2 separate regions of the Homo sapiens genome follow, and region 2 is linked to region 1. Evidence: promoter capture Hi-C in 16 types of primary human blood cells and fetal thymus (Javierre and others, 2016). All regions are on one chromosome and are shown on one strand. Each heading gives the region's core, a stretch centred on a gene start or on the middle of the fragment in contact. The rest is flanking DNA. Distances are from core to core; before and after follow the strand shown. Region 1 holds the start of ARMCX1 (armadillo repeat containing X-linked 1). Region 2 has its middle 3.9 kb from the start of ZMAT1.

Region 1 (2,700 bases), core at 103-2,602:
TCACTCAGGCACCATGAATAAGGGCAGAGGGGTAGGTAGGAACAGAAAGCCCTTCGATGCATTGCTGTTACCTCTGTGGGAATTTGGGGAAGGAAGGGAAGGAGCCAAAGGTATTTACTCTGATTGGTCACCTGAGTAAACGTGGCATTTACCACCTTGGTCACTCATCTATATATATTTTTGGAGTGAACAATAGATGGGTGCCTGAATACAGGGGATGAGAGGCTATGGAATGTGGAAGGGTGGGAGGGCAGCACCTTCTTCCGCTCTTGACAGGGCAGGAAGGATTAGAACATCGCTGCATCCCTCACACCCTCAGGTGCCTCAGCCTTGGTAGACTGGAATTCAATTCAGAGGCAGGTGATCAGAGTAGCCATCAAATCACAAGAGGTTCATATAACAGTCGGTCAAGACTTTGGGACGTTAAATACATGCTTTTCTTTAATTTAATAAGACAGGGTTGTGTTGCTTTAACTTATCAAATTGCAAGTTGATTCAAAAATAGAAAAAGTAAGGAATTATTTGTGTAAAATGGCCAAGATTAGACAACTGGTCGTCTCTTTGTGGAGTAATTCATAGATCATGTAAAAAAAATCCATTTTTTTTAAGAGATAGAGGCTTGCTCTCTGTCACCCAGGCTGGAGTGCAGTGGTGACATCATAGCTCACTGCAGCCTTAAACTCCTGGGCTCCAGCAATCCACCCACCTCAGCCCACTTTTCAATTTTAAAATGAGTTATTTTGTTTTAAAAGCTACTAATTGGCTGTAACCAGTAGAAATATTTTCCTACTGTTACAAATAAAATAACGAAATTAATGAGGCCTTTTGGGTTTTCTCTCCCGTTTAAACTCTCCACTCAAAGGAAAATAGCATCATTTTATTTTCTCAATATAAAAGTAATGCGTTACTGATTTAAAAACAAATGAGCAGAAAAGTTTAAATAAGACACTCCCACGATCTATCTCCTTTTCTAACATCTTGCTCCACATTTTACAGGGGTGCAGAAGAAATAGGACATTCATGACTTGTGATGGGGGGAGGTATAGAGAGAGACAGTTGGACTGGGACTAGAGAAGATAAAAAATTATTCCTCGAAGAGGAAGAAAAGGCCAACGGACACGGGAGCAGATACAGCCTCTCCCTGTAAACCAAAGAAAGGCAAATTCACCACAAAGAGAAGCTACTTCTAGTCTCCGGGGTTGGCAAAGAGGAAAATGAGTGACAGGACCTGATGTGTCAGGGAAGGAAGGGGAGGGCCGGCTTCTGCGGCGCTGCTGATGGGAGTGGTAATTGGGGTCCTGATCTCATGGTTGACGTGGCCCTCACGTGAGCTGGAGCCGACGCGTGCAGACGTCCTTCTAATCCTAGTCTTCGTTTGGTCCGGTTGCACTCTTCCTATAGCCCAGAGGGCGAGAGGGCCTGTGGCCTGGGGGAAGGAGGACGAGGTTCTGCCTGGATCCCAGCAGGTTTGTGTGTGGATGGGCGTTGCCAGGGGATCCCTGCGGCGCGGGCAGTGAACCGTGGAGGCCGAAGGGGGAGCACAGTTCACTTTCTCCAAACCCTTGCAGTATCCCTTGCCCTTTCTAGAACAAAAATGGTAGACCTTGGGGCCGGATTCCAGGGGCGACCCCAGACTCGGGCGTCGTGGGACCTTTAACATCCAGGGCCTTGAATCAGGGAGGGCGGATATTCGGATTCATGTCCTGTGTGCTGGCCCATCTACCAAGCCAGAATCTTGGGGCTGTGCGTCTGACAGTCATACCCCTTTTCTTTCAGTAGGACGCTGTGCCATTTGGGAACAAAGGAATAGTCTGCCTGGAATCCCTGCAGGTCAGTGTAAAGCTGGAGCTGTCCCGCGGCGCCCAGAAGGACTGGGATGACTGAGGTCCTTGCCTTAACTTGGGCCCTTTACCGACTCTCAAGCAATCTTCCTGCCATTTTTTTTTTCTTCAGTAAAAGAGGATGTAACAGTGGCTGCAGGAAAAGTGCTTGTGATTGCGGGTAGGGTGCGTTGGGGAGAGGAATAGAAGAGATCGGTTGGTTTTGTTTTTCTCCTCGGATTTTCCATATCCCCCCTCGCCCCGCCCCGCTTCCAGTGGTTTGAAAGGGGTGTGGTTTTGCTGGGAAAATGGCCGACCGCTGGGGCTGCGGGAGGGAGTGAGGGCCGGGGGCGGGGACGGGGGTAGGGGAACACTACCAAGCGACAGGGCTGGTGTCAGCGGAGTCCAGAGAAGTGAGGGTAGGGTGAGAAACAAAAAGGTAAAATCCATTGACAGCCAGGACCCTGAATTAGGAGAAGTGGATATTGGGACTCCCCGAAGTGCTTTTCTGTCCGCTGAGCCTTCAGTTTCTGCCTTGTTGCCTGTGTCTGCAGATCTTGGGGCCGGAGGCCAGTCCAACCCTTGGAGCAGGAAGAAACGCAAAGTTGTCAAGAACCAAGTAGGTCATAATAAGGGTGATGGCATTATTTGGGGGTGGAGCATGGTGGCGACTGCAACTCGAATGGGCCCGTGGACCCCTTCCATATCCCCCTCCTTCCCTCTTATCTACACCATTTCGGAGCTTGCAAAAGAAATTGTTCTGCAAGTACAAGACAGGGAAGAAAATAGCTGAGAAGGGGTGGGCGTCAAGAGAGTCCAGGGGTTGGGAGGACGTTACTCCAAATTACTGTTTGGGGTACAGGGTCCTTGGTGTTGGTCC
Region 2 (2,700 bases), core at 176-2,675, 390 kb after region 1:
TCTCTAGACTTCTACCTTGTCCTTATGTAAGTTAGATCAAATTTTACTCGTTAAGGAAATTACTGGATAGGCCAGACACAAGAAATAATCTGCTCAAGTAGCTAGTAGGACAAGGCAAGCATACAAATGGGGTGTGATTTTATTCCTTCTGATATGGAGGGATCTCTCAAAAACATTGTTTTTTGAAATATGAATCACAATCCACTTAGGTAAGAAATATTCATTCAGAATCTCTGGAGGAGTGGGCATCACTCAAGATTCAGTCAGCAAAAAAGAAACTACACTAGGTATTTCAAACAGAAAATATTTAATGTAGAATATCAGGTACTTAAAAGAATCAGAAAGGTTAAAGAAGTAAAATCCAGGAGACTTACGCAGATAAGGTCATCTGGCAGTTGGAAGCTTTTTCATCCTCGTCTATGTTCTCTCCTTTGTTGCAGAAGCTGGAATCCTGTGAATTACATTTCCTAAACTTCTTGCCAGCAGGATTCTGAATATGGTTTAGGTATCACCAATGCTATGTATTTGTATGATATTTTTTAAATAGAAAGGAAATAAAAACTGTTCTTTATGTGGAATCTGGCAGATATAAAACAAATTTTTTTTCAGACCCTAGCATTCTTCTGTAAGTCTTGTACTCAAAGGCTTTGGAGGATCTGTGAGATTAGCAGTGGTTTTCTGCAGTTCCCTGACCTCTGTCTGACAGTAACAACTATATCAGTCAACAAATATATATTAAATTATGGAATTACTTTGTCCTTCTTAGGATCCACGGAAAATTCTGTCTCTGCCACTTTAACAGTAAAAAGAAGTGGTAGGATAATGCACAAAATAAAATAAAATTATTAGTTAATTTTCTCCCCATCCTTCAGCTGCATTTGGTGACATGCCATAACATGAAAATGCCACCAAACCTCAGTCATGCACTGTGACAATAAGCACACACTTCCCTTTCCCTCCTCTTATACTTATCATTGCTCTCAATGACAGTAATGTTATTAAGTGAATGCCAATGTAATTTATCTCACAGGAAAGAGGAGGTGGAATATAGCACAGAGTAGCAATTAAGGAAAGCCTGCTATGGGCCAGATGTTTCCTAGAATTTCCCAGTCTTCTCACAAAAGTGATGTTATATTGGGCTCATTAATTCCATTTAAAAACGCAAAACTCAGTCTCATGAGTGTAAATAACTTCTCCATGGTTCTTTACTTATTGATTAAAATGGTCTGTTTATATCATTGACCCACAGGGAGGAGACTGTATTAATTGAAATGAATTTCAACTACCAATCCCCCAAATCATAGAAAGGAAACAAGGGTGGGATTAGGGGAGGGAAGTTGCGTGTAAGGTAGGGGTAGAGGTGCTAAAAAGAAATGAGAGAATATTTTTGCATATGTGAGAAATCAGCAAAAAACAAAAAGCATACCAGTGGTCATTTCACTATATTTGCAGTGAAATATAAAATACCTCATTTGGAATAATATGGGGAAATTGAAAAGCCATTATCAACAAACACAATACATTTAAAGGCATCAGAAAATGGGAGAAATAATCCAAACAGAATTTAATAGCATATAAGTAATATGACTGACATAGGCATGAATCTGACTAGGTATAATAGTAATGTTTAATTTTATTAACAAATGATTCAAAAGTGAGAAGCAATGGCAAACATCCAAAGTTGTTTAACAATACTAAAATTAAAGACAAATAAAAAGATACATTGAGATATACAAATAATCACCTCCCAAAGGCACTACCACTTAACACTATTACATTGACAATTAAGTTTCAACATATGAATTTTGGGGAACATTCAGACAATAGCAGTATGTATAATGTGACTCAATTTTGAACAAAAATGTATTTGCACATATGAACATATAGCCTTGGAATTATATATAAACACACATAAAATATATCTGGAAAGTATATATGAAAATACTATGAGTAGATAGCCTGTGGTAAGTCAGGCTTAAGATGAAACTATATGCTAATTAATGCATATATTTCCCCATTGTTTCAGGATTAATAGTGATAGATAAAATTACAATAGTACAGGATGTACCTGGTAGGGAATGGAAGTTATAGAAATTTATCTTTATTGATATGAAATGTTGTCAAATGTATATACATACATATATTTAAATGAAAAAGAAGTTATACAGAACTTTTATAAAAATAGATCTGTGTATGCCTAATGTATTTGTCTCATAGTGTACACTTTCATATATTCTCATTCTTGTTCTCTGCTCCCTACCCTCATCACAGACACACGCACATGTTGTCAGCCTAGAGAGGGTCTGAAGGAAATATCCTAGCATGTGATTTCGTATCCAGATCTATGCCAGAATCACTCTTAATGTTTCCTTTCTATGTAAACATCTAGAAAGTTCCAGAACATTCTCACTGTTTGACTTTAACCATAGGGAAGTGTCTTCCTTTAACCTAAGCTTCTTTATAATTGGTTAAAGGAAGAATGTAGTTAGACATTGGTCACTTAATCATTCTGTGGAGTATGGAGTCGGTGAACGATTTCATCACTCCATTTTCCTTTGTTTCATGTGCCTTTCTGATCTCTGATTTTTATATTTTATGTTATTCATCCTCTTTATATCGCCATGCAGGTCTTGCTTTAAAAGGCATCAACTTTCCTTCCAGGTGGTGTCTAGAGTTGTTCTTTTGGATAAAAACTGTTCC

The links. Contacts are between HindIII fragments. The CHiCAGO score rates a contact against its expected background, and 5 or more counts as called.
Region 2: a contact is called between a fragment that was not itself captured here and the fragment with the promoter of ARMCX1 in region 1, in 1 of 17 cell types (monocytes). The highest score is 5.8, in monocytes.

The regions. Positions count from the first base shown.
Region 1 is chrX:101,549,195-101,551,894 of GRCh38, forward strand. ARMCX1 (armadillo repeat containing X-linked 1) reads left to right here and starts at 1,353. Exons shown (of 4, transcript NM_016608.2): 1 at 1,353-1,466; 2 at 1,777-1,830; 3 at 2,375-2,439. The HindIII fragment of the contact is 13,633 bases long and covers 1-2,700 here.
Region 2 is chrX:101,934,576-101,937,275 of GRCh38, forward strand. No RefSeq gene overlaps it. Among named protein-coding and RNA genes, the nearest start is that of ZMAT1, 3.9 kb to the left of the region's middle. The HindIII fragment of the contact is 2,051 bases long and covers 401-2,451 here.